2 separate regions of the Homo sapiens genome follow, and region 1 is linked to region 2. Evidence: promoter capture Hi-C in human tissues and cell types (Jung and others, 2019). All regions are on one chromosome and are shown on one strand. Each heading gives the region's core, a stretch centred on a gene start or on the middle of the fragment in contact. The rest is flanking DNA. Distances are from core to core; before and after follow the strand shown. Region 1 overlaps OSBP2 (oxysterol binding protein 2). Region 2 holds the start of DUSP18 (dual specificity phosphatase 18).

What was found. The method cuts DNA at HindIII sites, captures the fragments that hold promoters and counts their contacts. A contact is called where the count stands out against the background at its distance.
Region 1: a contact is called between a fragment that was not itself captured here and the fragment with the promoter of DUSP18 in region 2, in 1 of the 25 tissues and cell types used here (dorsolateral prefrontal cortex).

Annotation. Positions count from the first base shown.
Region 1 is chr22:30,884,595-30,889,734 of GRCh38, reverse strand. It overlaps OSBP2 (oxysterol binding protein 2), which reads right to left. Exons shown (of 14, transcript NM_030758.4): 4 at 2,117-2,309; 5 at 1,395-1,512; 6 at 501-558; 7 at 99-245. LOC107985544 (a long non-coding RNA gene) reads left to right here. Exons shown (of 3, transcript NR_146603.1): 3 at 1-3,679. Among named protein-coding and RNA genes, the nearest start is that of MORC2-AS1, 35 kb to the left of the region's middle. RefSeq lists an enhancer at 3,026-3,723. The HindIII fragment of the contact is 5,521 bases long and covers 1-5,140 here.
Region 2 is chr22:30,665,206-30,669,944 of GRCh38, reverse strand. DUSP18 (dual specificity phosphatase 18) reads left to right here and starts at 2,070. Exons shown (of 2, transcript NM_152511.5): 1 at 2,070-2,483. It also overlaps a transcript of SLC35E4 not described here. RefSeq lists an enhancer at 1,583-1,972. The HindIII fragment of the contact is 10,031 bases long and covers 1-4,739 here.

The DNA of each region.
Region 1 (5,140 bases), core at 1,194-3,693, 220 kb before region 2:
AAGGCTGTGTGTACTTCACACAGGCCATTACTGCTCATCCACGCACAGGAAAGCAGCCCCAGAGGACCTGTCGGGGCTGCCCTGCCCGAGCCACCCACCGGCATGGGGATCCTGGAGAGCTCCCGGCCGATGCAGTTCTTCATGATGCTCCAGAGGTTAAGGCTGTAGTTGGGCTTGTTGGGAATGCGGACTCGCCTCTTGACTTTGGATGAACCCTTGGGCACGAGCGAGGCACCATCTAGTACCTGCCACATAAGTGGGGACCCCCTCACCGTCAGCAGAGGCCAGAGCGCCCCCTTGGCTTCCAAGTTTCTGCCCTCCACCCTGAGGACTGGCACCAAGCCGGCCACTGGTACGCTGCTGGTGGAAGGCCAGGATGGTGCTCCTGGACTGGGGCATGGGCCTGCCTGCTGGCCCCCAGTTCTTGGTGCTGGCCTGTCCCTCCCACCCCCTAGGCCAGAAGCTGCCTTCTGGCCCTTACAGTGCTCCCCCTCACTTACATTGTCTGCTGAGCTCCAGTCCACGGAACTTGTCCCGGTGCTACCTTCAGCTTTTCTGCTGGAAATACAAAGCGGGAGGCAAGTTACTAATGAATCCCGAGGTCTCCTTGGGACCTGGCCCATCCTCTCTCCAGACAACATCATTTTCATTGCTAGTAAATGTCCTGGTCACTGCCGTGTGTTCTGTGTGTAGACAGGCACCGCAATAACAACATTTCAAGGGTGGATAGTGTATATGACAGTGGTCCCATAAGACTATCATATCGTATTTTTAATATACCTTTTCTATGTTTAGATACACAAATCCTTAACCATTGTGTCACAATTGCCTACAATATTCAGTACAGTCACATGTTGTACAGGTTTGTAGCCCAGGAGCTATAGGCTGTGCCATATAGCCCAGGTGTGTGGCAGGCTCTATCAGCTAGGTTTGTGTAAGTATACTCTATGAGGCTCACACAACAATGAAATCCCATCTGGAGCAAGACCGATAGATTATTGATTTTTTGAGACAGGGTCTCTCTGTTGCCCAGGCTAGAGTGCAGTGGCATGACCATGGCTCACTGCAGCCTCCACCTCCCTGGGCTCAAGCGACCCTCCCACTTCAGCCTCCCAAGTAGCTGGGACTACAGGCCTGCACTACCATGCCTGGCTAGTTTTTGTATTTTTTGTAGAGACAGGGTTTCGCCATGTTGCCCAGGCTGGTCTCAAACTCTTGTATTCAAGCAATCTTCTTACCCTTGGCCTCCCAAAGTGCTGGGAGCCACTGGGCCTGGCCAAAGCAAGATTTAAAGGAAAGAAAACCCCAAGTAGACAACTAGATAGCTGGTGAAAAGACCAGATGCAGCCTAAGACCAGGGTGGGGGAGGCTCTGCCCAGCTGCAGCCACCTTACCTGTCTTCCTTGGCCTCGGTGATCACGGTGATGAAGGATGTGGAGTCTTCCATGGCATCAAAGTACTCGGTATCTTCATCTTCCTCACTGTCCTCTCCTTTGGGAGTCAAGAGGCTTCCTAGAGACACAGACAGAGCTTTAATTTGTAACCTCACAAAAGGCTCAATCTCGCCTCCCTAAGTCCAGAGCCAAGGGCTCCCCCAACCCCCATCTGGCCTCACTCCCCTCCTGCTTCAGTCACCTGGGCAGCCCTGATTCCCTGGGCTGCGGCCACCCTTGCTCCCTCTGCTAGAATCATGTGCTTTCAACGCATTCACCGCACAGGAGCCTCTTTCTGGAAGCCCCCCCGATCTCTCAACATGTGGGTCAGTCTTTCTGTGGCCCAGCTTCCCTTTCTGATGGACCCCTGTCCAGGGTCCCCATGACCCCCAACCCAAGGCTAGGTGGGTGGCCACCTGGCACCAGGACACCCCTGTCACACAGGGGACAGCTGGGCTCATTAAATTTAACTCTTGAGAATGTGAACCTAGGTGCAGACAAACTGTTGCCAGTGGGTGATGGACATGGGAGATACAAAACCACGAAGAGGCAGTCAAGAGTTGGCCAAGGCCAGCCCACATGTGGGCACAGCCAGGGATGTGCATGTGGGGGCGCAGAAGTTGTGTATGCAGAGCCAGCTGGCAGAAGGTCATGGGACAGCCCTGCCCTGGCTGCCCACTCACCCTCAATGAAGCTCTTGGAGGGGTTGGCCGGCCGGCCAGGGGCACTGTGGAAGGCCCGCTCGAGGCTGTTGTGCTGCTTCGCCAGCTGCTCAATGGTTTCCTCCAAGTGCACGCGCTGCTCCTGCTCATACTGCAGTGCCCGCTGCCATTTCCGACTGTGTATCTCTGCTAGTTCCAAGAAGTCCCTGCAGGCCTGGGGAGGGAGGAGTGGCGGTATGAGACCCTGGCCTCTGGCAGGGGCCCATCTGTCAGAGGCATGTGAACCAGAGCAACTCCACCTTAAACAGGAGCTGGGTAAGATGAGGCTGAAACCTACTGGGCTGCATTCCCAGACAGCTAAGGCATTCTAAGTCACAGGATGAGATACAAAATACAGGTCATAAAGACCTTGCTGATAAAACAGGTTGCAGTAAAGGAGCCGGCCAAAACCCATCAAAACCAAAATGGCGACGAGAGTGACCTCTGGTCGTCCTCACTGCTACACTCCCACCAGCGCCACAGTTCACAGATGCCATGGCAACATCAGGAAGTCATCCTCTATGGTCTAAAAAGGGGAGGCATGAATAATCCACCCCTTGTTTAGCATATCAGCAAGAAATAACCATAAAAATGGGCAACAAGCAGCCCCGGGGGCTGCTCTATCTATGGAGTAGCCATTCTTTTATTCCTTTACTTTCTTGATAAACTTGCTCTCACTTTGCACAGCAGACTCGCCTTGAATTCTTTCTTGTGTGAGATCCAAGAACCCTCTCGTGGGGTCTGGATCAGGACCCCTTTCCTATAACACATCTGCTCCCCCACCTCCATTCCCTGTGAGGACTAAGCTCTGATATTTTTTATCTTGCCCAAATTCCTATCTAAGGCGTCTGGGGAGTCATGCCCTAAAAACCATACATTCTCATCAGATGGGCTTTATTTAGCCCTATATATCGTGACTTACTTTCCAACCTGACTCTGGCATAACATTACGAGTCAAGGAAGAAAAAGTATTTCATCCCAAAACATGCTTCTTTGCCATATTTTGAAGTGGCCCTGCAAAGCTGTCCTTTGTGGGGGAAAACGTGCATCTGTAAAGAATCTCTATTCACAGAGCTAGATCGTTTTCTTCCAGGCCCTCCCAACCCTGAAGAGATGAAGTAAGAGTCTTAGCACCTTTTTAAAGGTCTGATTAGGAAACATTTGTCATCTATTGTCTCCAAGGGGAGCCACTATAAGACTTAAAAAGAACCTTGGTCTCCACAATCTTTCATCTTAACCTGAACATTTCCTTTCTATTGATCCCAGGTCTTTAGACAACTCAACCAAGTGCCAACCAGAAAATGTTTAAATTTACCTATAGCCTGGAAGGCCCCCTCCCCACCTTGCTTTTGAGCTGTCCCGCCTTTCTGAACCAAACCAATGTATTTCTTAAATGTATTTGATTGCTGCCTCATGCCTCCCTAAAATATATAAAACCAAGCTGCGCCCCAACCACCTTGGGCACATGTTCTCAGGACCTCCCAAGAGCTATGTCATGGCTGTGGTCACTCATATTTGGCTGAGAATAAATCTCTTCAAATATTTTGCAGAGTCTGTTTTTGTTGACACCTGCAGTGAAGAAGGCCCTGGGGGCCATCTAGCTGCCCCCTCTGCTGGGATGGTCACAAACATGCTTACTGCCCCCTTTGGCCTCCTTGGGGATGTGGGAACCCTGGCCTTCTCAGAGCCCGCCCAGCAACCAGCACCCACCTTGGTTGGCCTCCCACGGTCAGGATGCCAGTTGGGGAACAGCAAACCTGGGTGCCACGGGTCTGCACGCTGCCTCCCCAGCAGCAGCTGGTTTGGTTCAGCCTGGAGCTGAGGTGGCTGCTGTTGCTCATTATGGTAGGGCCCGAGCATTCTGCGGCCACGTCCTCCCTGCAGTGTTAGGCCTCAGGTTTGTCACTGGCCCTTGTCTACCCTGGGCCAGTCCCTGGCCGTGGCACAGAAGGAAGGAAAGCCACGTTCTGCTATCCTCCCCAGCTCAGAGAGGTAATTGGTCTTGTCTGGCAGAAGTGGGACTGGCACTTTCTACCAAGCTACATCAGAGTCTGAATCACATAACTGCTTTTAAGGTTTTCCCTTCAAGCTTGTGGCCTACTGAGACATCCAGAATCTTTTCAGCTTCCCAGGTCCACAGATGGTTCCACCACCAGTTTTGAAGCAGGGGTTGGTCATTCTGCCCTGTCATTACAGTGGAGAGGATGGCTCAGGCTTCAGCTGTCCCTGGAGGGCAGTGAGATCAAATCTAGGAACCTCTGGATTTGCCCTTTCTGGACACATTCTTGAAGCCAGTAGGAAGGGACGTTTCCTTGGCCCGCATCTGCATCAGTGGCCCCAGCTGCCACTCCCCAGCACTTCCTCCCCACCCAATTGCCCCAGCTGACCTGGAGCACCCACTGAGCTCCATGCACATCACAGGCTGTCCCACCCCAAAGGAGGAAGATGGGCACACCAGTCCTCACCTGTGACACAGGGACAAGGCAGCTGTTGAGGAAATATCAGGAGGTGATGTGGCAGGCAGGGCGAGGGAGCACTCAACAGACGTGCCTCATGGATCCCCTCCCGCATCTGCCCTGGCACCTGGTGCCCAGGCCACAACCACTAACTCCCACCACTCCTCAGACCTCTGCAGCATCGCTCTCCCAGGCAACGGCCTGCCCCTCAGTCAGAACCGCTCAGATGCCTGCCCATTGGGTCGGTCTCTCCAGCGACTGTGCCAGGAATGCCCCTGAATCAGCAGCTGCTCCCAGACATTTGCTGCCAAGTGACACCTACCGGGGGGTGGGACTGACAGCAGTGGGAGCGAGACGGGGGTGTCCTGAGGCGGCCTCAGGAGAACACCTCCAAGGGTGGGAGGCTCCCCAAGGCTGTGCACTGGGGCACCCTGCCTGGGGACTCGCCCACCCCACAGGGAGAGCCCGAGCTCTCGTGGCTGGCCTGGCTCGGTGGAAAGGGGCCCCCAGCCTGCCCCAGGGATGCCACTCCTTGAACAAGCCCTCCTCT
Region 2 (4,739 bases), core at 821-3,320:
CTGGGCCACAGAGCTAGACTCTGTCTCAAAAAAAAAATTGTTCATATTTTCTTTCTAAAATGCGGAAACAAAATCTACAGTATGGAAGCAATTGAATAAATTTTGGTATGTCATAAAATAAAATACATGTAATTGTGTATGAAACATAGACGGGTGGTATATTAGATGGGAGAAAAAAGCAGGTTACTAAAAAGTGAACTTTTGTGATGTATCTTTTTTAAGTATAAGCATGTTGTAACATATATATATATATATATATATATATATATGAATGGATTCTGATCAAAATACACCAAAATGTTAACAGTGATTGTCCCTAGCCACTTATGCTGCTGGCCTGTCTTGTCTTCTTTTTATTTCTTCGAGACGGGGTCTCACTCTGTCCCCCAGGTTGGAGAGTAGTGGCACAATCTCAGCTCACTGCAACCTCCACATCCCAGGCTCAAGTGATCCTCCCACCTCAGCCTCCTGAGTAACTGGGACCACAGGTGAGCCACCAAGCCCGGCTAATTTTTTGTATTTTTGGTAGAGATGGGGTTTCACCCTGTTGCCCAGGCTGGTCTCGAACTCCTGAGCTCAGGTGATCCAACTGCCTCAGCGTTTCAAAGTGAAGTGGTGGGAATACAAGCGTGAGCCACCATGCCTGTCCTCATTTTTCTATAAGTGTACACTACTTTTATAATTGGGTCAAAAAAGACAACTGTAGAAGGATAAAAAATATTGAAGGACTAGTTTTTCTAATGCATTTTCAGCCTATTTGGAACTGGAGTGTTGTGAATGTTTTCATATTTACAAACTAGTATGAACAATCCAACTTCTCAATCTCTCATTTACATTTTTCTGACCTCTATGCATAGCCTAGGTGTGAGGTGATGGAAAAAGCTGGTTTAGAGATCAAGATGCTCAAACACAAAAGTCCCCCAAATCCTGAGAGTTTTTTGTTTTTTTAAAAAAATCCTTAAAACATTTAAAGACGCATAAAACTCTTCACCCACTCAGTGGTGCAAAAAATTTACCAATACTAGAAGGGGAGGAGGCTGGCAACGACTGGAAATATTCCCTTTCAAGTAATAAATAATGGTTATTTTGAACCAAATTGCTTTCCACCTCAAGTCCTCCATGGATGGGAGCCTGGAGGATGCAGTGATGGGGGTTATGGAATGGAAAGGAGCGTGGGTAATTGGGTTTGTGAGGATTGGGGCCAGGCAGAGGGAACTGGGGGCTTTTCCAGGACCACTGGGGAACACAGAGGCTGAGAAGGGGAGTGTGGGATGGGTTCGAGCTGGGGAGGACCTCGGCCTCGCCAGGCTCTAAGGAGAGTCACAGCTCACCACCTAGGGCGCTGGGACCACACGATGTCATGCCTGGGAGACTGAAGGGCTAGGACAGATTCTGAGAAAATGTGGACTGGAGATGGGGATTCCAGGTTCTCCCGGGAGTCCAGGCGAGGGAGTTCCGGCTTCAGGGAGTCCCAAGAGCTAGACTGGGAAGGGGCTGGTGCCCAGGACTATGAGAAATCCAGACTCCCCTGGGGTGTGAAAAAGGGCCGAGGTCCGGCTGAGGGAGAGCGAGTCTGAAAGAGTTCGGGCTCCCTTGCGGGTCCGAGAGTCTAACGAAGGCTCTGGGCACCCAGGCCGCACCTGAAGAGCACCAACGACTGCTCGGTCCGCGGCGCGGGAAGGAGATGTGCGGCTGAACCCCTACGCCGATTACTTAGCGGCGGCCCTATCGAGAGGGTGGTTCGAGCCCGAGGTGGCGCCGGTCCCGTAAATCGTGGAGGATCTCAGGTCCCCTGTGACCAAGGGCGTAGTCAGCTGTGTCATGGCGGCTTCCCTGTTCGAGAAACAGTTGGAAACTGGAGGCCGGTTGGGAGTCATGGTCGTTGGGCGCACGGAGGCCGGTTGGAAGCCATGGTCGTTGGGCGCCAGGAGGCCGGTTGAGAGCCGTGCTCGTTGGACGCGCGCAGACCTGGAGTTAGTCCCTGGGCGGAACCTGGAGCCCCGCGCGGCGCGTTGCCTGGGAGACGCATAAGGGGGCGGGGCCGGGGAGGGAGTGTCGCACATGCGCACAGAGCCCGGGCGGCTACGGAAGCGGTGAGACTGTCTCTCGGCTGCAGCCCTGGTGCGACCCGGCCCGTTGCCGTAGAGATGGGCAGGGCTGGATGGAGTGGGGTGCGGTGAGCTGAGCTGACCCTGCTTCGCCACGGGGACTGCAGTGACCCCGGCTTGCCGGCAGGGCGGGTAACAGGTTGAGCCAGGGTGGGGCTGCTCAGGGGCGTGGAGCCGAGGCCAGGATTTCTCTGAAGACCCGGCACAGGCTATTCCTTTCTGCGACGAGCCCATTGCTATGGAAACCAAAGCGTTAGGCCAGCGGGGATTGAGGCTGCGGGATCATGACGGGTCTCTCTCCCGAAGAACCTTGCCTAAGGCTTCCCCAAGCGGCTACTTCCTGAGCGAACCCGCCCACCCGCCTGAAGGAGAGAGGTAAAACCCTGGGGGTCCTGACACTAAGCAGGCGAAGAAGCCTATTCCAATGCCAGCTCCCCTAGGAAACCTACCCGGCCCACCCCTAGAAGTGATGCTTCGCTCTCGTTAACTCTTGGACTTTGTTCCATGTTTATAACTTAGTATTTCACGAACGCCCCGCGGTGTTTGTTCATTTTTCCCACACATAATGGACCATAAAGGTCGGCTTCTTTGCTTTATGACTCGTTCTGAACAAGTCCTTTTCCGCGCTGTGTCTCACTTTCCTCTTTTGTAAAATGGAAATATTAACTCTAGACGCCGGTCTGATTAGGTTGCTTTGAAGATCGAACCAGATGAGGGAAGCCAAATACTTCATAGGCTGTAAAGTGGTGAAGCTGAACTGCTACCGAGTTGCTATTTTTTTCTCCTCCTCCCTCTCAAGCTAAACGTTCTTTAGATCTTTTGTGATTTCTTCAGGTGGTCTTTGCGACTCCCTAGGCTCCGACCTGGAAGAAATCTTTTTTACACTTCCCTTTCACAGAGCCCTGCATTTTAACTTCCCTATCAGAAGCGAGAAAAATAGTTATCATTTTGAGAGGGCTTACTCTATGCCAAGCCCTGAGAAAACTCTTTACGTGGATTATCTCGTTTAATTTCACAACATCCTTTTAAGGTAGGTACTGTTATCCTATTTTCAAGCTCTGTCTGCCTGTAATTGCCTGTTTACTATCTGTTTCTCCCACTAGTCTTTGAGCTCCCTGAGAAAAGGGGCCATGCCTGTCTTGTACATTTCAGTATCTCCAACACCTAATACAGTGCCTGATAGAGATTGCTTTTTTTTTTTTTTTTTTTTTTTTTGAGATGGAGTCTCACGCTGTCTCCCAGGCTGGAGTGCAGTGGCACGATCTTGGCTCACTGCAGCCTCCGCCTCCCGGGTTCAAGCAATTCTCCCGTCTCAGCCTCCTGAGTAGCTGGGACTACAGGCCCATGCCACCACGCCTGGCTAATTTTTGTATTTTTAGTAGAGACGGGGGTTTCACCATGTTGGTCAGGCTGGTCTTGAACTCCTGACCTCAGGTGATCTGCCCGCCTCGGCCTTCCAAAGTGCTGGGATTATAGGCTTAAGCCACCGTGCCCAGCCCTGATAGATATTTCTTAACTAGCATGAAAATGACTCCTCGCATCACTACCCTCACCTGCAAGAGCATTGTCACTTCTGCAGACTTTTAGTGGCTATAATGAACAGCACATTCCTCTATTCCCGTTACCCACTGGGCACTGGTTTGGGGGGACATCAGTTCACTTCTCTATGGATTTTCTGATGACGAGGATCCAGAACATTCCTTAGCATTTAGACTTCCATCTGGGTTCAGGAGGCTTTTTCTTTGCCCTTCATATCACCTCTGTAGCAAGCCAGCCCTCTCTGTCCTTCCGGGAATGAGCCTGATGCATTTGAGTCTGGGGCATTGGCAGGTAGGATTTGCCTATACAACCTTTGGTCTTTCTCTTTAGTAGCCTCAGAACCACCCCCATCCCCACCCAGCCCCTCCCTGGAATTCTGGAGACACGCTGCCAGAGAACTCATTCTTTCCAGAAAACCTCTCAGAAGGCAGAGTCATAGCTGTTGGGAGTCATTTCTTCATTCAACAAATATTTATCAAGCACCTACTTGTGGGGACACAGCGCTTGGCACTAGTTGGTGATAGAGTGGGAGTGAAGACAGACACCATCATATCCCTAAAGGGCTCACAGTCTCTTGGGGAGACAGACATTAATCAAATAATCAGACAGATCGGAGCAAAACTACGTCTTCAGTAAGTGTTAGGAAGGAGAGAACATAGGGCTAAGAAAGCCTGGAGCAGAGTTGGTCAAACGTGAGGGAGGGGTGTGATCTAAGGAGATTTCCCTTAAAACAGTTACCTTTAAGTTGATATCTTAAGGCTCCTCAGACTTCTGCAGTCCTCTGCTGAATGGACCAGATCAGGATCTGATGGGTTCATAAGGAAAGAGACTGAGAGATCAGCAGGGGCAAAGGCCACTGGCTGGAGAGGACAGGTTGTCCCTAAGGAACTGTAAGTGGCTCGGTTCACCTGAGGCCCTTCAGAGCATGGAGAAGCCTAATAAGAGGCTGGAGAGACAGGCAGGAGCCAGGTCACAAATGGCCTTGACAGCCAAACTAAGTGGCTCCATCTTATCCTCACAGTGGATAGCCACTGAAATATATTAAGCAGGGAAACAAAACTTTGGCTCCTCATTTCTCGTGCCTGGTGAAGA